Regions from separate parts of the Homo sapiens genome. Here all the other regions are linked to region 2. Evidence: promoter capture Hi-C in human tissues and cell types (Jung and others, 2019). All regions are on one chromosome and are shown on one strand. Each heading gives the region's core, a stretch centred on a gene start or on the middle of the fragment in contact. The rest is flanking DNA. Distances are from core to core; before and after follow the strand shown. Region 1 overlaps GNG7 (G protein subunit gamma 7). Region 2 holds the start of LSM7 (LSM7 homolog, U6 small nuclear RNA and mRNA degradation associated). Region 3 holds the start of GNG7 (G protein subunit gamma 7). Region 4 holds the start of DIRAS1 (DIRAS family GTPase 1). Region 5 holds the start of ADAT3 (adenosine deaminase tRNA specific 3). Region 6 holds the start of SLC39A3 (solute carrier family 39 member 3). Region 7 overlaps SGTA (small glutamine rich tetratricopeptide repeat co-chaperone alpha).

Region 1 (2,700 bases), core at 154-2,653, 340 kb before region 2:
TCTCTGCTCACTGCAACCTCCGCCTCCCGGGTTCAAGCGATTCTGCCGCCTCAGCCTCCCAAGTATCCGGGATTACAGGCGCAGCACCTTGCCCGGCTGATTTTTGTATTTTTAATAGAGACGGGTTGGGTTTCACCATGTTAGCCAGGCTGGTCTCGAACTCCTGACCTCAAGTGATCCACCCGCCTCAGCCTCCCAAAGTGCTGGGATTACAGGCGTGAGCCACCGCGCCCGGATGAGTGTGTGTTTTGTGTGAAGGGATGCTCTGTGCTAACTCTGCCGTGTGATGTTGAGGATCGGAGGTGAATCTTTTTTGACAGGACCCTCATCTAATTTCAGGATGGAAGACTGGAACACTGCCTAGATGAGAGTATTTAGTTGCTGAAATGGTGCTATTTTGTCTTAGACTGTTTTGCGAGGGTCTCAACCAATGGCCTTGGGGGCAAATCCAGGCCACCTGTTACTATAAATAAAGTTTTATTGGCACACGATGGGCCATGCCCATTTATTTATGCATAGTCTATGGCTGCTTTCAAAATACAACAGCAGAACTGTGTAGCTGCAACAGAGAACATATGTTCCGTAAGGCTGAAAATTTTTACATCCTGCCCTAGACAGAAACACTTTGCTGTGCTCTGGTCTAGTCCAGAAAGGAGGTAATCTGGCCAGGCAAGGTGGCTCACACTTGTAATCCCAGCACTTGGGGAGGCTGAGCAGGGAGGATCGCTTGAGCCCAGGAGTTCAAGGCCAGTCTGGGCAACATAGCAAGATCCTATCTCTATGAAAAGTAAAAACTAAAAAAGCAGGCATGGTGGCTCACACCTATGTAATCCCAGGACGTTGGGAGGCTGAGGTGGGCAGATCACCTGAGGTCAAGAGTTTAAGACCAGCCTGGCCGACATGGCGAAACCCCATCTCTACTAAAAATACAGAAATTAGCCGGGCATGTTGGCAGGTGCCTGTAATCCCAGCTACTCGGGAGGCTGAGGCAGGAGAATCCCTTGAACCCGGGAGGCTGAGTTTGCAGTGAGCTGAGATCGTGCCACTGCACTCCAGCCTGGGCGACAAGAGCAAGACTCTGTCTCAAAATAAAAATGAATAAATAAATACAATAAAAATTAAAACATAAGCCGGGCACGGTGGCACTTTGGGAGGCTGAAGCAGGCAGATCACCTGAGGTCAGGAGTTCGAGACCAGCCTGACCAACATGGTGAAACCCTGTCTCTACTAAAAATACAAAAATTAGCTGGGCGTGGTGGCGGGCGCCTCTAATACTGGCTATATGGGGGACTGAGGCAGGAGAATCACTTGAACCCGGGAGGCAGAGGCAGTGAGCCAAGTTCGCACCACTGCACTCTAGCCTGGATGACAGAGCAAGACTCCATCTCAAAAAATAAGTAAAATAAATTGAAAAAGAATAATAAAAGGAGGTAATCCAGGTTCTAAATAATAAAGCCAGTATGTGCCATGACCCATGGCTCAGACACCACTTTAAACATTTTATAGATACTCATTTATGTAATCTCCAAAACCAGTCTCACAGGGTGGATGCTGCTTCGATGTGCATTCTACAGAGTGGGAAACTGAGGCACAGCGACAGTGGCAAGGGACTGAAGGTCACCCAGCCAGACAGCGAGTCGTGAAGTCAGAATGGAGTAGCTCTTGTCCAGCACTCCACCTTGGCCATACCAGAGCGTACGTCCCCACCCAATCCTTCCTCGGGACTCAGTGGAGCTATTTTCACATTGAGGGGAAATAGAAATCCGTTCGTTCTCATTTTCTTTCTTTTTTTTGTCCCGCATGGCCCTCTTCCCAAATCCTTGTTGCCCGTCTCACCAGACATTCCAGTTCCAAGAGGTGGGGTGTGGCGAGGACTGTCCAGCACGGCAGGGTGATCCTGCCCCCCCCCCCCCAGGGGACACTGGGCCATGTCTGGGGACATTTGTGGCTGTCACCATTGAGAAGTGCTCCGGGCATGCAGTGGCTGGAGGTCACGGATGCCGCTCAGCGTGCTGCAGTGCTCAGGACGGCTCCATCCCAGAGAATGGTACAGCCCCAGTGTCCACCGTGCCTGGGAGGAGAGACTCAGCATTCATTATTTGGAGAAGAAATGGAGTCTGCTTCCTGCTCACCAGGACACACTCCTGATGGGGCAGACGGTGTAAACCAGGGGACCCCAGCTCGTGGGATTCACCTCCTCTCTCCCTCCCCCCAACTAAAGGTGTGGATTTCAATGTGTGCAGCCTCCTGGGACCTCAGCAGGACAGAAGATCAGGGGACAGAGTATCTTGGGGGTCCGTGGAATTTCCTAATTCAGGGGGTGTCAACTGAGGGTGATTCTGCCCCAGGGGACACTGGGTGTTGTCTGAGGACATTTGTCGTTGTCACAACTTGAGGATGGTCGTGGCGTGGAGTGGGTGGAGGCCAGGGACACTGCTCAGCACCCTGCAGTGTCCGGGACAGCTGCACCCTAGAGAATGACCCAGCTCTGAATGTCCACGGTTTCCAGGGGAGAGACCTTGCATTAACTGGCAAAAAAATGAGTTTGCTCCCTGCTCACAGTAGACACCAGAATAGATTCCCGATGGGGCAGACGGTGTCAGCCGGGGCCATCCTCCCAGAGTGACCTAGAGGACTGGGTGAGGAGGGTCTCTAGAGCACTGAGGGTGCAGGACACAGAGCCAACCGTCTGATTGTTCC
Region 2 (2,700 bases), core at 79-2,578:
GGGGGCCCGACAGCCTTGCAGAGACCAGGGGCATCTCAGGGTAAGAGAAAAGACTAGAGAGTGAAGCGACTGCAATGAGCTGCAGGCTTCCCCAGCAGCCAGGTCACAACTGGACGGCGCACTCATCTGGATGCGACACGGTCTGACATACTTTGAAAGGGTCACCCCTGCTGTGTCGAGGATGGACTGGGGATGTGGTGGACAAAGGCAGCCACAGCAGAGGGATAGCGGTGGGGCTGGAGGAGTGGAGACTGAGGAGCCAGGTGGCGGCGACGCCTTAAGAGTGAGAACTCTGAGGGGGTAGTGAAGGTTAAGGGCTGCATTTGTGGGGCTGCTCCAGGTTCCATTGCCTGAGCCACCGAACTCAGGAGAGAGGGAAGATTTGGAATTAAGAAAATAAAAGATGCAGTTATGACAGTGCGATCTCGTAGACTGTCCCCACTAGAACCTGACACTCTTTACATCAAATGACACACAATGAACATAATGAAGGCCTGTTGGCCCTGGGCGCTGGTCACCCTGGACAGAACCTCCAGAATCCACACCATAGTCGGTCCTCCTTCTGCACACGAATTCCATCGTCCAAGGTCACGGAGTAAAAGATGGAGCGGGGATCCGACCCCAGTGCAGGGCTGGACTCCTGGCCGCTCCAGGATGCTGCCAGTTACTGGGGGACGCGCGGGACGCCTCTGGGTTCCCCCACCGCACCCCCTAGGGTGAGGTTAGCTTAGCACCGTGCCCGTTCCGCCTAAGGGGAAACTGAGGCTCGGAGAGGGGTGGGCAGCCGCCTGCTCAAGGCCACAGAGCCGGAGAGAGGCGTCCCCGGCGGCAACTGGAGACCCCGAAACGGAGAAGCAGAACCGGAGGATGGAGGGGGCACAAATTTCAGACCCGGTGGGAAGTGAGTGGCGCTGCAGCGGCGGAGGGCCTCCGAGGCGGGGAAAGGAGAGGAGCCGGGGACAGACCCGCAAGGTCACGGCCGAGCCCCGGCACCGCCGGCCGACAACGCGGGGACGGCGGATCCCCGAGGCTGGACCCCCAAGACGGGCCGAGCGGGGTCGTTCCTGCGCGTAGCCCGGGGACAGAGAGGCCGAAGGGCCGCAGCCCGCGGTGCCGTCGGGACCGGTGCCGCGCTCACCTGGGCCGCGAGGAGCAGAAAGGCCGCCAAAAGCCGCGCCAGCGCAGCCGCCACCGCTGCCGCCATGTCGGCCGGTGCCCGCCGCAACCAACGGCAGATGTTTCCCAGCAACGCCCCGAGACCCCGGGCCACGCATGCGCCGCGCATGCGCGTGGGGGAGGTCAAAGGGCGCGGGGCGGTGCCTGCGAAGAGCCACACGGCGCGACAAGATGGCGGTGAGCGCGCGGCGGAATCTGGAGCCGGGGGGCGTGGAGCTCGGGCCGCGCTCCAGGTCTCATGCGCTCTGCTTTCCCCGCAGGATAAGGAGAAGAAGAAAAAGGAGAGCATCTTGGACTTGTCCAAGTACATCGACAAGACGATCCGGGTAAAGTTCCAGGGAGGCCGCGAAGGTGAGGAGGCTCCCGCTGTCGGTACCCCCTCTTTAAAAATTTCAAATAAACCCAGCAACAGAGATGATGAGGACGCATGCGGAAGCACCTCTTTTATTTATTTTCATTATTTTTTTTGAGACGCAGTCTCGCTCTGTCACCCGGGCTGGAGTGCAGTGGTGCGATCTCAGCTCACTGCAACCTCCGCCTCCCAGGTTCAAGTGATTCTTGTGCCTCAGCCTCCCGAGTAGCTGGAATTAATGTGTACCACCACGCCCGGCTAATATTTGTATTTTTAGTAGAGAGGCCATGTTGGCCAGGATGGTCTCAAACTCCTGGCCTCAAGCGATCTGCCTGCCTCAGCCCCCTAAATTGCTGGGATTTCAGGCATGAGCCACCATGCCCAGCCTAGCATTTTTGACTGGGCAAGTGAGCTGCCTTCTCCTAGCCTCCGTTTCCTCATTTGTCAAATGGGGCTGGTAACTCCACCCACTTCACAGGGGGTGGTGAGAATGAATGGTTACAGGCATGTAATGTAATTGAGGCAGCTCTCAGCAGGAAGTAAGCAGTCAGACAACACGTCACTTATTCAATAGCCTCTTGGATCTTTGGTTTCTTTTTTTTGTAAGACGGGGACCCAAACCTCTTTGTCCCTGGATTGTAGACAACTGGGTGGCATGAGAGTTATTAAAAATCACAGTGCCCCAGCCGGACGGGGCGGCTCACGTGTGTAATCCCAGCAATTTGGGAGTCTGAAGCAGGAGGGTGGCTTCACCCTAGGGTTTGAGGCTGCAGTGAGCTATGACCGCACCACTGCACTCCAGCCTGGGCCACAGAGCAAGGCCCAGTCTCAAAAGAGAAAAAGGAGGCCAGGCACAGTGGCTCATGCCTTTAATCTTGACACTTTGGGAGGCCGAGGCAGGCAGATCAGGAGGTCAGGAGATCAAGACCATCCTGGCCTACGTGGTGAAACCCTGTCTCTACTAAAATACAAAAAGTTAGCTGGGCATGGTGGCGCACGCTTGTAGTCCCAGCTACTCGGGGGGCTGAGGCAGGAGAATTGCTTGAACCCCAGAGGCGAGATTGTGCCACCGCACTCCAGCCTGGCGATAGGGCAAGACTCCGTCTCAAAACAAAAAGAAAAAGGAATATGAATAAAATGTTTTCTCAGTCTACACCATGCTGACTCCGGAC
Region 3 (2,700 bases), core at 46-2,545, 370 kb before region 2:
TGAGCAGGGAGGTTCTTGCAGGGATGACAGGAACCCTGGGGAAGTTTATCTTGGATTTTGGCCAGCAGCTCCAATCCCAGGGCTCAGGTGGGGCGGCAAGGACACACAGTGTCAGCGCCTGATGAAATCCCTGAGGTCACAGAATATGGTGGCTCCATCTTCCTTCCAGGGCTGTGTACTGCTTTTGGAGACATACAAAGTGTTTTCCAATATTCCCAAGGGAGCTTGTGGAAAATGAAGATTCCAGGCCTGTAATCCAAGCATTTTGGGAGGCAGAGGCAGGAGAATCACTTGAGCCCAGGAGTTCAAGACCAGTTTGGGCAACATAGCAAGACCCCATCTCTAACAAAAAAAAATTAGCCAGGGCCAGGCACGGTGGCTCACGCCTGTAATCCCAGCACTATGGGAGGCCAAGAAAGGTGGATCACCTGAGGTCAGGAGTTGGAGACCAGCCTGGCCAAAACGGTGAAACCCTGTCTCTACTAATAATACAAAAATTAGCTGGATGTGGTGGTGCGTGCCTGTGGCCCCAGCTACCCGGAAGGCTGAGGTGGAAGGACTGCTTGAGCCTGGGACTTCAAAGCTGCAGTGAGCTATGACTGCACCACTGCAGTCCAGCCACGGCAATTGAGTGATACCCTGTCTCAAAAACAAAACGAAAACTAAACAAAACACAGATTTCAGGGTCCAGTTCCCTATAGGATTCTGGTTCATTCCATCTGTGTTGGGGCTCAGGAATTTGTGGATCCAGGGCCATGAGTTAGGAAACTGAGAAATCTTGGAAATGATGAGACAGGCTTGGGCAAATGACCTTAGGTTTCACCTTTCTGAGACCCAGTTTCCACCTCTGTAAAATGTGGATAGTAATCTCGCCTTCTGGCCTTATGCGGAGGGTCCCACGAGAGGGAGCCTATAAAGTCTTCAAGAAAGCGGTGCAGCAGTTATGATCACTGACATTCTTCCCCAGCAAATGAGCCCCCGGAGCTGGCATGCAGGATTCGAACCAGCTCACCTAGCGCGGGATTCGAACTCGCGAAACTACTCGCGCCTTCCTGACGTCACGAAGTCACCCTGGAAAGCCGCTCTTCGCCCCGCCCCCGGCCCCGCCCGCGCCCGGAGCCCCGCCCCACTCTCCTGGGCGCAGCCTACCCCGCTGCCTGCCCCGCGCCCCGCCCCCGCTCCGGCCTCCCGCAGCCGGGGCTCGCGATTGGCCTTGCCGGGACGCCAGGGCCCGCCCCCCGAGTGTCGGCCCCGCCCCCGCAGAGGGGAGCGAGCGCTCGCGGGCCGGGGCGGAGGGTTCGGCTGCGCGGCGGGGCTGAGGCGGCCGCGGGGCCCGAGCGCAGGTAAGGGCGCCCGCGAACCGGGCCAGGGGAAGTGAGGGCGCGGCCGGCGTCCCGGAGAGGGGACTGGGACAGCTCGGATTCGGCTGCGGACCGAGTTGGGGGTCGGAGTCGGCTGAGGAGGGGGGCTGGGTCTGGGGACCCGGGCTGCAACTGGAGGCTGGGGTTGGAATTGGGGACGGGGCTGCGCTTAGGGGGTCGAAGTTAGCTGGGGAGGGGCTGGGGTTGGGGATTGGGACTGCACTTGGGGCTCAGGGCTAGCTGGGGAGGGGGCGGGAGTTGCAGGTCGAGGTTAGCTGGGGACGGGGCAGGGGGTGCAGATCGAGGTTAGCTGGGGAAGGATTGGGTCTGGGCATTGGGACTCCACTTAGAAATCAGGGCCAGCTGGGGAGGAGGCTGGAGTTGCAGGTCCAGGTTAGCTGGGGAGGGGGCTGGAGGTGGGATTGGAGGTCTGAGTTAGCTGAGGAGGGGGCTGGGGGTGAGACTGGAGGTCTGAGTTATCTGGGGAGGGGACTGGAGTTGCAGGTCGAGGTTAGCTGGGGAGGGAGCTTGGAGCGGGATTGGAGGTCTGAGTTGGCTGGGGAGGGGTCTGGAATTGCAGGTCCAGGTTAGCTAGGAAGGGGCTGGTGGTGGAATTGGAGGTCTTGAGTTTGCTGGGGAGGGGGCTAGAGTCGCAGGTCGAGGTTAGCTGCCGAGGGGGCTTGGAGTGGGATTGGAGGTCCAAGCTAGCTGGGGAGGGGGCTGGAATTGTAGGTCGAGGTTAGCTGGGGAGGGGGCTGGAAGTGGAATTGGAAATCTGAGTTAGCTGGGGAGGACGCTGGGGATGGTGTTGGGGGTTGAGGTTAATTGGAGCGGGGAACAGGGGTTGAGTCAAGGGTGCAGCTTCTTTGAAGAGGGAGCTGGGAGTGGGGTTGAGGTTTGCAGGGAGCTGGAGAGGGGGCTGGGGATGGAGTTTGAAGTGGGGTTCATTGGAGAGGGGGCTGCAGAGGGAATTAGATGTTGAGGTTGTCTGGGGAGAGGACTGAGGAATGGGGTTGGTGAAGATGGGGGGGTGTGATTGACGGCCCAGGGGTTAGGGTTAGCTGAAAAGGGGCAGAAGGACAAAGCTGGGGTGAGCCAGGGAGTGGCTGGAGCATACAGGTGGGGGTCAGGCTTGTTCCAGAAAGGGTCTGGGGGCTATCAGGGGAAATGGGGAGCTTGTGAGTGTGTGGGGTGGAAGGGGGTTCAGGGAGAAGGAAGTTGGGGTGAGTTAGTGAGAAGGGAGGTGGGGGTAAGGTCCCAGGCTGGAGACACCTGGGGGCAGGTGTTTTGCTAGACATTGACTAATCAGGAGGAAAACGGGGTGTGGGGAGGTGTCTCA
Region 4 (2,700 bases), core at 78-2,577, 390 kb before region 2:
GTGGAAGGAGGGCTGGAGGAAGGGGTCTGGAGGCCAGGAGGGGGAGTGGGGTCAAATCAGGGAGAAATAGAGCTCCTTGAGCCCCAAAGCCGCTTGAACCTCAGTGCCCCAGCCTCAGTGGCAACAGGAGAGGGGACTGAGTGGTCTTGGAGGCAGTGCCAAGTCTCCGCAGAGGCAGATGGGCCCACCTCATCCAGGGCCATGGAAATGGTGGGTCATGGAGAACCCCAGGAGCTGAGGGCCCAAGGGGTTCACCTGCTCACAGGCCTGGTGATGGGGAGCTCACCACCTTCCAGACCAGCCTCTCACCCACTGATGGCTCTGACTCTGGAGAGACCCCTGTGGGTCCCAGAGTTGGCCTCTCCACCAAGGGGCGCCTTCCTCTGACAGCCTTGCGGCCTGGGACTGTCCCGCACCCACCCCTGAGAGCACCTTCTGGCCTGGTCACTAGACCCCAAAGTCCAGTCTCCTCTGGGATCTGCCCGATGAGGCCAAAAGGAACCTCGGCCTCCCGGTCTCCAAAATGGAGGCGGAACCATGGTCTCTTGTGGACACACAGACGCATCAGAAAAGCCAGTGCTCCCCTAAGACACCTCCTGTTGGGGGAACACAAACATTTTCCTAACCGAAAACGGCAAACCCATCCGCTGCAGAGCAGCGCCAGCCCCCTTTGCTCACCCCCCACCTCCCTAGGCCTGACTGCCATGGGCTGCCTCCGCCTCCACAAAACCAGCCCTACAGAGCGCTGAGTCCGCTTCTGCCCCCATCCCGCCCCTGCCCAGGCCCCTGGGATGGGTGGGCCTCCAGGTGCACCCCATTGACCTGAACCCTCCCGCCTCTGCCCGCTTCTAAACCTGTTCATTGATTGTTGATTATCGACTTACTCATTTCACAACGCACCCCTCTGATTCCCCGCCCTGCGTGTGACCGGGCCCCAGCCGGCCTCAGGGGTCCCGTTCTGCACCCCCTTTATCCGCATTTCTGCCAAAGCCCTCCACCCCCGGCTGGACTCTGCTCCTCCCAAGCCGGGCTCCTGGCCCCCACTCGGGGTTCCCCGGGAAGCGGCCCCAGCTCCCACCCCGAGGGAGGGCGCGCGCAGGTGGCTACGTGGCAGGGCGGGGGTCCCGGATCCTGGCGACCTCTCCCACCCCGGGCGCGGGCAGGGGTCCCGCGTGGGGCGGCGGTGACCTTGGCCGGGCGGCGCGCCGGCCCCGTGGGCGCGGGTCCCCGGGGCGGGGCGGGGCGGGGCGGGGCGGGGCGGAGCGCGGGGCCCGGCGGGCGGGGACGGCGCGGGCGCGACTGCGGCGGCTCGGGCGGGCGGGGGGCGGCGGCGCCAGCGGACACCGGAGCGGGCAGGAGCAGCGGCCGCGGCGCCGCAGGGACCAGCGGGCCCAGGTAGGCGGCCCGGGGCGGGGAGGGGGTCCCTGCGCAGCCCCCAGCCGGCCGTCCTCCCCGCCGCGCGTCCCTCCTTTGTCCCGGCCCCAGCCTCCCGGGCCTTGGGGCCGGGCCCTTCCCCGCGTGGCTCCGGGGCCCCTCGCCGGGCGTCCCCCGTCCCTTCCCGCCGGGCCCGGCCGGCCCCTCCGCGCTCACCTTGGACAGCTCCCGGCCGCCTCCCCTCCCCCACCCGGAGGGCGCCCCCCTGCCGAGCCCGCCCCACCGAGGCCCACCCCGCCGCCCCTCTCCGCATTGGTCCCCTCGGGCAGGGCCTCCTCCCTCCTGCAGCCGCCTTCTTCGCCCTCCGCCCCGCTGCCCAGCCAAGCCCCTCCCTCCGCGCCCCCTCCCCGGGGTGGGCTCCTCCTCTCCACCACTGAGGTCCTCCTGAGTCAAGGGTCGCCCCTGGGCTGGCCCCGCACTGTGCCTCTGCGCCCTCGGGCCCCCTAGAGCAGGCCCTTTCTCCATCAAACCCCTCACCGGCCAGGCGGCCCTGGGTCAGACCCCCGCCCCACCCTTGGTCAGGCGTGACCCCCGCTAGACCCCTGGGTCGCGGCTCTCTCTGCTTTCCTGACCCTGAGCTTTGCTTTGACACCCCCGCCCCCACCAACCACGCCGTGCCCGGCCGGGAGCCGGGCTTCAGGGACCCAGGGCTGGGGTAGATTGGCCCTGCCTGGACGTCTGGGGGTGGGCTGCCCCGCACAGGCGGGAAACCCCAGGAGTCTAGCCAAGCAGGGTGGGCTTCCAGCCCCGCTGTGCGCCTCCACCCCCCTGCTCTGTGACCTTGAGCCAGCCCCTCCTGCTCCTGCCTCGGTGCCCACGACCCCCTCCCTCCACCCGCACCCCCCAGGCGGTGGAGGTGGGAAGTGGCGTGGGCTTCGGGGCTGTTGAGTGCAAGCGCCTTTCTGGTCAGGGATTCCAGACCCAGCGGGGAGGACAGTACTGCTCATGGGGGCTGGAGCTTCAGTGCCCGCAGCAAGGCAAAGGCTGGATCTGGGTCCACAGAACCCATGGCCATTAGGACCCCAGGCCGGTCTTGGTGGCGTCTTTCTGCACAGCAGCGTGCCCGCCTCTCAGGGCGCCCACCCAGGAAAGGGCAGGGTCTGCAGCACAGGCCGCCTCCCCCCCACCACCAGCACCCCCAGCCTCCTCCGAATGCCGAGAAATTACTATGCATGTAGTCCACAAACCCGGCAGCCAATCACATGAGTTGGCATTGCCGAGGCGCCCAGAAGTTTGCCTGGCTCATCACAACTGGGGACTGTGTCA
Region 5 (2,700 bases), core at 30-2,529, 420 kb after region 2:
AGGGTTTCACCGTGTTAGCCAGGATGGTCTTGATCTCCTGATCTCGTGATCCACCCGCCTTGGCCTCCCAAAGTGCTAGGATTACAGGCGTGAGCCACCACGGCCGGCGCTACACGTATGTATTTTATTTATTTATTTAGAGACAGGGTCTCGCTCTGTTGCCCAGGCTGGAATGCAGTAGTGCCATCACAGTTCACTGCAGCCTCAACCTCCGGGGCTCAAGCAATCCTCCTGCCTCAGCCTCCCAAGTAGCTGGGACCACAGACATGTGTCACCATGCCTGGCTTATTAAAAAAAAATCTTTTTTTCTTTTTTTTGGAGAGTGAGTCTTGCTAGCTTGCTCAGCCTGGAGTACAATGGTGCCATCTTGGCTCACTGCAACCTCCACCTCCCAAGTCCAAGCGATTCTCCTGCCTTGGCCTCCCCAGTAGCTGGTTTTACAGGCGCGTGACACCACGCCCAGCTAATTTTTGTATTTTTGGCAGAGATGGAGTTTCACCATGTTAGACAGGCTGGTCTCGAACTCCGGACCTCAGGTGATCCACTCGCCTTGGCCTCCCAAAGTGCTGGGGTTATAGGGTGAGGAACTGCACCCAGCCGTCCTTGTTTCCACGGAGTCGATCCTCTGTTTCTGGCCACCCTACAAGGAGGCCTTCTCTGCAAGACAGCGGGGAACCTCGGTCCTCGGGGTAGTGTGTGGGAGATAACTGGGGGCCTGTGATACAAAAACCTGAAAAACTCATACTCTAGGTAACGATGAGGAACGATGGTCAATTCTGGGGATGTACCAAGGCCTAGGGGAATCTCCACATAAAGGCGAATCAGAGCTGGGGAGGAAGGACGCGAAGGCTACGGAAACTCGCGAGAGCGCGGTTCAGAGGCAGGGGACTGCGGGACATGACCTGAGGAAGGGCCACCGGAAGCAGCTGGAGGATACGGGGTCTCCCGCACCGACCATAAGGGCGCACACGCGCAGAAAGGCGCTAGGCCCGGGGGAGCGCGGTCCTGAGGCTTCCCCCAGGCCAGCGCCGCGCGCGCGCGCGCACGCGCATTCGCGCCGCCTCCCCGCGTCGCCCACCGGCCCGCCCGAGACGCGCGCGAGGCTGGCCTGGGCCCCCCGTTTTCTCCCCACAAACGGCCGGCGCCCCTCACCGCCGAGACCCCCCATGTCAGCCCCTACTCCCCCTCTGGGGAAGTCTGAGCCTGGAGAACCCGAGACCTCGGGGCCGCGCGCTTACCTGAGGGATCCGGGCGCGAGCGCAGCGCTTCGCCAAGTCTTAGCAACCGGCCCGGCCCAACCCACCTCACCCCGCCTCGTCTCCGCCTGGAGCCGCGGAGCACGACGGGAGCGTAGTTCCAGGGGCGGGATCTTCGCCAGGCCAAGGTGGGGCAAGGACTACAATTGCTAGTAGGCACTGCGCGCCGCCGCCTCGCCCCGCCCCGCTCCGGCACTGCGCTCACATGACCTCCGGGCGGCGGGAGGGGAGGAGAGGCGGGGCCGCTGCGCTGGGCGAGCGCTGAGTTTGCAGGTTCGAATCCCATCAAGCGGCCAGGGAAAACTCGGAACCCGGGGGATCTTTGGAAGGTTAGCAGAGTGGGAAGGATGAGGCAGAGGGGGTATATGACACCCGTCCCCTGAGTCCGGGATGGGGCCAGGTTCCAGTTCTGCCTGTTACTGCACTCCGGCGTGGGCCGCCCTCAGGTTTGAGTTTTCTCACCAGTAACGTAGGTGAAGAAGACCTCTTGCCTCTCCTGGGCCAAACAAGCACATTTTTTTTTTTTTTTTTGAGACGTAGCCTCAGTCTGTCACCCAGGCTGGAGTGCAGTGCTAGGCTCACTGCAACCTCCACCTCCTGGGTTCAAGCGATTTCTGGCTAGTTTTTGTACTTTTAGTAGAGAAGGGGTTTCACCAAAACATGCATATTTTATGAGCAATTTGTTACTCCTTCCAGTTGGACAGGTTTAACCAAGTGGTTCTCAACGGGAGGGAATTTGTCATCCCCTCCCCCAACAGCTTGACAGTGCCTGGCTGTAACCAGCTCAGGCTCCGATGCCAGAGTCTTGACAAACCAGTAAGGAGGAAAAAGTGCAGTGAAAGGAAGGTGACTTCCTTTCAGAGTTCGCAGCAGGGAGGCAGCTGGTTTAGGCCTCCAGAAACCCCTTCAAACTTGAGGCTGGGGTGAGGGGCTAAAAAAGGGGAACTGGGAATGGTGGGTGTGCAGGGGAGGTGCTGATTATAAGCTCTGTGTGTTCATGAATTTTGGTGGCTTAAAAGCGCAGGCTGGCCTCATCCTAATAAGGGCCGGGTTGCAGACCACCTTGAGGAAATCTCTGGGATTTTGCAGGTGGGTCTCCGTGCTTGGCCTGTCTCCAGATTAGCTCTAAAACGTTCTTTCTTTTTTCTTTTTTTTCGAGACAGTCTCGCTCTTGTCACCGAGGCTGGAGTGCAGCAGCACGATCTCAGCTCACCGCAACCTCCACCTCCCAGATTCAAGTGATTCTCCTGCCTCAGCCTCCCGAGTAGCTGGGATTACAGGCACACGCCACCACACCTGGCTAATTTTGTATTTTTAATAGAGATGGGGTTTCTCCATGTTGGTCAGGCTGGTCTCAAACTCCTGACTTCAGGTGATCTGCCCGCCTCGGCCTCCCAAAGTGCTGAGATTACAGGCGTGAGCCACCGTGCCCAGCCTGTTCCTG
Region 6 (2,700 bases), core at 53-2,552, 410 kb before region 2:
AACTGGGGCAGGACCCTCTTCCATGATCACGTTCATGGCTGTTGGTAGCATTTGGTTCCTTATGGACGCTTGTGCTGAGGGTCTCATTGCCTTGCTGACTGTTGGCTGGAGGACACCCTCAGTTCCTTTCCCTCTGGATCTCTCCAGCATCTTAGCTTGCTTTGTCAAGACACGTAGGCTGAGAAGGCGAGAGACAGGCTCTGCTGGCAAAACAGAAGTCACAATCTCTCATAGCCTAATCGCAGAATGACATCCCATTCATTTGCCATTTTCTATTTGTTAGAATCAAGTCATCAGGCCAAGCGCAGTGGCTCATGCCTGTAATCCCAGCACTTTGGGAGGCCAAGGTAAGAGGATCACCTGAGGTCAGGAGTTCAAGACCAGCCTGGCCAACATGGTGAAACCCCGTCTCTACTAAAAACACAAAAATTAGCCGGCATAGTGGCACACGCCTATAATCCCAGCTACTCGGGAGGCTGAGGCAGGAGAATCGCTTGAACACGGGAGTCGGAAGTTGCAGTGAGCCAAGATCGCGCCATTGCACTCCAGCCTGAGTGACAAGAGCGAGACTCTGTCTCAAAAAAAACCTTTTTTTTTTTTTTAGAGATGGGGTCTCACTATGCTGCCCAGGCTGGCCTTGAACTCCTGGACTCAAGCGATCCTCCCGCCTCGGTCTCTTAAAGTGCTGAGATTACAAGTGTGAGCCACTGCGCCCTGCCAAGATTTGGTTTTTAACTTACGCGTTACCTCCTATACTTATTTTTTCATGGTTTGAACATGTAACATCTACTTTCTTAGCAATTTTGCAGTATGCAATGCATTGTTACGAGCTGTAGCCACCATGATGTACAGTCGATCTCTTGGACTTACTCCTCCTGCCTATCAACAGAGATTTGTTGAAGGGATGAATCTGCTTCTTCAGCCGTCGGTAAGGGGATCAGCAGCGAGGACGCTGAGAGAGGAGCCGCCTCCGTTGGAAATCCCTTCCCATCCACCTCCAAGCCTCTTTCCAAGCGGGATTCAGCACCAGGCGCCCCTGGACAGCTCTGGAAACCCAACCCTGCCGGAACCGTTCCTCGCCAATCCGGGTTTCCCGCCGGGGCCGCTTGGTGGCTGCGCCCGCCGCTCAGCGGGAGGAAACCCCTTTCCTGTGCCGGTAGGAGAGGTGGAGTCGCATATGAGTGGCAGGTTTCGCAGCCAATAGTATGGAAAGTTCTGCCAGCGGGTCTCGGGGAGGCCAATGGGCAGGGGCGTGGGCGGGGCGTGGACCAGCCGCGCCGAGCGGGGCCTCTCCGGGCCGCGTCTGTGGGGTCGAGACTGCGCGGCCGTTGGGCGTGCAGCGGCGCCAGTCGGCGGACGAGGGGCCCCCGGGAGGTAGGTGCGGGCAGAGAGAGGACCTGGGGCGGCGGGGCGGGGCGGCGCTGAGCGGCCGGGGGTCTGTTGGACTCTACCCGCACGTTAGCCGAGGCCCGTCTCCGGTGCCCGGTAGCGCGAGGCACACAGAAGGCGCTCAATAAGTGCTGATTGAATGAATGAGCCCGTGCCCTCCTCATCCCGGCCCGAGCAGCCTCCGGTTTGAGAGCGTGCAGGCCACCCTCACCTTCACTGTACAGACTGAGGTATCCAGATGCCGGACAGGTCTTTATTGGGCGCCTACTGTGTGCCTGGGTGGCTCTGCGCTGGGTGCAGCTGGCCCTGAGCAAGACAGACAGCCTGGTCCCGCCCAGCTCACCGCCGGGGGGGAGGGACGACTTTAAATGACTTAAAATAATGTAATTCCTAGCTCCCTCTGTAGCACAAAATAAAAGAAAATAACACCAGGGAAGGGGGCGGGGAGAGCTCTGAGTGGAGACATCTGAGCAGTGACCCGAAGACCTGAATGCAGTGAGGTAGCGGGGCCATGAGGCGCTTGGGGCTGATGGTGGGGGAGAAAACCCAGTTGGGGAAAACTCAAGGACAGGGGAGGAGCTGAGATTCCTCCTAAGAACGGTGACATTTTGGGGTCCAGGGTGAAACCGACTTCACTTTGGCCCATTGCATCAGGTAAAATGCGGCCCTTATCAGTGGCCACACGCTTCCCCTCGTCCATGTGTTCAGCCAGCGGTTTTTGAGTATCTGTTCTGCAGCAGGCCTTCCGGCGGGTACAGGGATATGGTTTAGGGCAGGAGTCAGCCAGGGGCAGAGAGGGAGGCCCTTTTTTTTTTTTTTTTTTTTTTTTTGAGACGGAGTCTTGCTCTGCAGCCCAGGCTGGAGTACAATGGCGCGATCTCGGCTCACTGCAAGCTCCACCTCCTGGGTTGAAGCAATTCTCCTGCCTCAGCCTCCCGAGTAACTGGGATTACAGGCACGTACCACCATGCCCAGCTAATTTTTTTTTTTTTTGAGACAGAGTCTTACTCTGTCACCCAGGCTGGAGTGCAATGGCTTGATCTTGGCTCACTGCAACCTCCACCTCCTGGGTTCAAGTGATTCTCCTGCCTCAGCCTCCCAAGTAGCTGGGATTACAGGTGCCCACTACCACACCCAGCTAATTTTTGTATTTTTAGTAGAGACAGTGTTTCACTGTGTTGGCCAGGCTGGTCTTGAACTCTCGACCTCAGGTGCTGGTCTCGAACTCTCGACCTCAGGTGATCTGCCCACCTCAGCCTCCCAAAGTGCTGAGATTACAGGTGTGAGCCACCACTCCCAACCGAGGGAGGC
Region 7 (2,700 bases), core at 49-2,548, 430 kb before region 2:
CTACCTTTTGTCTGTTGTGAACGGTGCTGCTTGAGCACGGGTGTGCAATCGTCTGTGTGAATCCTGTTTTCGTTTCTCTTGGATATAAACTTCTGAGTGCACTCGCTGGCTCATAGGGTCACTCCCCAGTAAGCGCTGTGCGCACTGGGGAGCTGCTCACCTGTTTTCATGGTGAAATCTTTTTTTCTTTCTCCTTTTTTTTTTTTTGAGACAGAATCTTGCTCTGTCACCCAGGCTGGAGTGCAGTGGCAGAATCTTGGCTCACTGCAACCTCTGCCTCCCGGGATCAAGTGGGTCTTCCCAAGTAGCTGGAATTACAGGCATCCACCACCATGCCCGGCTGATTTTTGCATTTTTAGTAGAGATGGGGTTTCACCATGTTGGCCAGGCTGGTCTTGAACTCCTGACCTCAGGTGATCCACCCGCCTCAGCCTCCCAAAGTGCAGGGATGACAGGTGTGAGCCACCGCGGCTGGCCCACGGTCAAATCTTAAAGCATGGTTTCCCAGCCACAGCACCGTGGCCATTTGAGCTGGACCAGTTTCTGGAGCAGGGCCGTCCTGGGCACTGCAGGGTGCTGAGCACTGTCTCTAGCCTCCATCCACTCCATGCCAGGAGCACCCCCTGCCCCTGTCTTGGCGTAACCCAATCATGGCTGTTGCAAATGTCCGCTGCCATTGCAGGGGTCCTCTGGGGGCAGGATCACCCCCTGGCTGAGAACTACGCTCTTTAGGCCAAAGAAAGAGGGGTGTTCTGGGAAAGCAGGTGAAAGTCACAGGGTGGGTTTGGGCCCTGGAGGCCCACCAGGTGGTGAGAGAGAATCCTCTCCTGCAGGGGAAGGTGAAGGGCTGAGAGGGATTCTCTCCCGGGCCACTGCGAGGGCCTGCAGTGGGGGTGGCGGTCAGGCTGTCCCGGCTGCGAGTCACGCGCTCTCTCCTGCAGCATGTCCGGCATGATTTCGGGTGGCAACAACCCCTTGGGAACTCCCGGCACCAGCCCCTCGCAGAACGACCTGGCCAGCCTCATCCAGGCGTGAGTGGAACTGCTTCCAAGAGGACGGAGGACGTGGGCGGCGGGCAGGGCTCGCAGGCGGAAGGGAAGGAGGAGAGCGAAAGTGCTGCGTCCCCTGCTCCGAAGGGCCCAGCGTCCTCCAGCGAGGGGTCAGGCCTGTCTTTGGGGTGGAGGGCCCGAGGGGTCAGCTGGGGATGGACGGAGGCAGCAGGCAGCCTCCTGGCCCTGGCTGAGCCCCATGTGCCCTTCCCCGCAGGGGCCAGCAGTTTGCCCAGCAGATGCAGCAGCAGAACCCAGAGTTGATAGAGCAGCTCAGGAGCCAGATCCGGAGTCGGACGCCCAGCGCCAGCAACGACGACCAGCAGGAGTGACGCTGCGTGAGTGCATGGGGCCGGGGGCTGGGGGGTGGCCAGCAGGAGTGACACCACGTGAGTGCCTGGCAGTGAGGGCAGCCAGCAGGAGTGACGCCCGGGGGCTGTGGAGCCTGTCTGGACACTGGACAGCGAGTCCTGGGTGCATCCAGCTCAGAAGATCACCCTGAACCGCCCAGGCAGGTGGGGGCATCTCTGGGCATTGGGCCCCTTTCCAGGTGGCCACCAAGTCCTGCTCCCCACTCCTTTCCCATCTGTGGATCGGCGCTGGGTGGAGATTAGGGGAGAGCCACAGCTCCCTGGAAGGGCTGGTGTCTGGGGTCCCCCCTGCCTAAGGCCGCCTGCAGAAGCTCTTTGTTTCTGCAGTGTCGGGGCTGCCACCTCGGGGGTGGGGGCGAGGTCATCGAGTGGTGGAAAGGACAAGCCGGGTACCTGCCTTTGACTGCGCCCGAGCGTTCTGCCTGCATTTTGTGAGGGATTTTTTGTCCTTTTCTCACTGTGAGCAGGTGTTGCACTTACAGTTGTTTAAAAATACACTCAGTGTCCCCCATGGGTTCCAGGGGCCCGTGGCTGGCTTGGTTTCCTTCCCCAGGGGCCCCTGAGTTCAGTCCTGTCCGTCTCCAGCAGACACCGGCTTCCCAGGGGTGGGAGGCTCCCCTGAGTTCAGTCCTGTCTGTCTCCAGCAGACGCCGGCTCCCTGGGGGCGGGAGGCTCCGGGCCTCCCCAGAGGTGTTTCCATTCTGCTCCCATGTGGCCTCTTCATTTTGTCGTTGTCCCCTCCTCATATACACTCTCTTTCATTTTTAAACCATAATTACTGTAGACAAATTTAAAATACAAAAATGTTAAAAAGCAGCAAGAACAATCTTAATCTTTTTTTTTTTTTTTTGAGACCGTCCTGCTCTGTCCCCCCGGCTGGAGGGCAGTGGTGCAGTCACGTCTCACTGCAGCCTCAACCTCCTGGGCTCAAGCGATCCTCCCGCCTCGGCCTCCCAAAGTGTGAGCCGTGCATTCAGCCCAACCTTAATCTTCTCACCCAGAGCCACCAACATTAATATTTTGGCCGCCTTTTCTTCCAGTCTTCCCTTTTTTTTTTAAATAAGCTTTTATTTATTTTTCCTTTTCTTTTTTTAATAGTTGAGGTGGATTTTTTACCACCGTAACCTCATACACAAAGTACCACCATACTGTAGACCCTTCTAGGTCATGGCGATGTTCTCTGCGCCACCAGCCACACGTGGCCCCGAGTGTGTGGAACGCTTCTGGTGCAGCTGTGGCTCTGACGTTCGTTGAAATAGCCGCTGTGGCCCCTGGCTGTC

Evidence for each region. Contacts are between HindIII fragments. The study calls those that stand out against the background at their distance.
Region 1: a fragment that was not itself captured here is called in contact with the fragment with the promoter of LSM7 in region 2 in 1 of the 25 tissues and cell types used here (IMR-90 fibroblasts).
Region 3: the fragment with the promoter of GNG7 here is called in contact with the fragment with the promoter of LSM7 in region 2 in 2 of the 25 tissues and cell types used here (dorsolateral prefrontal cortex and mesenchymal stem cells).
Region 4: a contact is called between the fragment with the promoter of DIRAS1 here and the fragment with the promoter of LSM7 in region 2, in 1 of the 25 tissues and cell types used here (lymphoblastoid cells).
Region 5: a contact is called between the fragment with the promoter of ADAT3 here and the fragment with the promoter of LSM7 in region 2, in 3 of the 25 tissues and cell types used here (dorsolateral prefrontal cortex, psoas muscle and spleen).
Region 6: the fragment with the promoter of SLC39A3 here is called in contact with the fragment with the promoter of LSM7 in region 2 in 4 of the 25 tissues and cell types used here (dorsolateral prefrontal cortex, lymphoblastoid cells, mesendoderm cells and 1 more).
Region 7: a contact is called between a fragment that was not itself captured here and the fragment with the promoter of LSM7 in region 2, in 4 of the 25 tissues and cell types used here (dorsolateral prefrontal cortex, lymphoblastoid cells, mesenchymal stem cells and 1 more).

The regions. Positions count from the first base shown.
Region 1 is chr19:2,664,575-2,667,274 of GRCh38, reverse strand. The region is part of intron 1 of GNG7 (G protein subunit gamma 7); the gene reads left to right. Among named protein-coding and RNA genes, the nearest start is that of MIR7850, 35 kb to the right of the region's middle. The HindIII fragment of the contact is 9,228 bases long and covers 1-2,700 here.
Region 2 is chr19:2,327,214-2,329,913 of GRCh38, reverse strand. It overlaps LSM7 (LSM7 homolog, U6 small nuclear RNA and mRNA degradation associated), which reads left to right and starts at 1,328. Exons shown (of 4, transcript NM_016199.3): 1 at 1,328-1,353; 2 at 1,437-1,527. The coding sequence starts at 1,348. SPPL2B (signal peptide peptidase like 2B) reads right to left here and starts at 1,230. Exons shown (of 15, transcript NM_152988.3): 1 at 1,139-1,230. The coding sequence starts at 1,204. RefSeq lists silencers at 944-1,203, 2,224-2,323 and enhancers at 1,414-1,463, 1,474-1,523, 959-1,613, 1,894-1,953. The HindIII fragment of the contact is 22,122 bases long and covers 1-2,700 here.
Region 3 is chr19:2,701,289-2,703,988 of GRCh38, reverse strand. GNG7 (G protein subunit gamma 7) reads left to right here and starts at 1,295. Exons shown (of 5, transcript NM_052847.3): 1 at 1,295-1,343. RefSeq lists a silencer at 1,010-1,399. The HindIII fragment of the contact is 6,266 bases long and covers 1-2,700 here.
Region 4 is chr19:2,719,999-2,722,698 of GRCh38, reverse strand. DIRAS1 (DIRAS family GTPase 1) reads left to right here and starts at 1,327. Exons shown (of 2, transcript NM_145173.4): 1 at 1,327-1,395. The HindIII fragment of the contact is 24,571 bases long and covers 1-2,700 here.
Region 5 is chr19:1,903,978-1,906,677 of GRCh38, reverse strand. ADAT3 (adenosine deaminase tRNA specific 3) reads right to left here and starts at 1,279. Exons shown (of 2, transcript NM_138422.4): 1 at 1,239-1,279. It overlaps SCAMP4 (secretory carrier membrane protein 4), which reads right to left and starts at 1,279. Exons shown (of 7, transcript NM_079834.4): 1 at 1,239-1,279. RefSeq lists enhancers at 776-865, 1,886-1,945, 2,226-2,285 and silencers at 1,026-1,175, 1,226-1,555. The HindIII fragment of the contact is 31,876 bases long and covers 1-2,700 here.
Region 6 is chr19:2,738,619-2,741,318 of GRCh38, reverse strand. SLC39A3 (solute carrier family 39 member 3) reads left to right here and starts at 1,302. Exons shown (of 3, transcript NM_144564.5): 1 at 1,302-1,374. RefSeq lists enhancers at 1,021-1,070, 1,771-1,820 and silencers at 1,131-1,530, 1,939-2,206. The HindIII fragment of the contact is 11,347 bases long and covers 1-2,700 here.
Region 7 is chr19:2,756,024-2,758,723 of GRCh38, reverse strand. SGTA (small glutamine rich tetratricopeptide repeat co-chaperone alpha) reads left to right here. Exons shown (of 12, transcript NM_003021.4): 10 at 942-1,031; 11 at 1,267-1,387. The coding sequence ends at 1,381. Among named protein-coding and RNA genes, the nearest start is that of SLC39A3, 17 kb to the right of the region's middle. The HindIII fragment of the contact is 7,304 bases long and covers 1-2,700 here.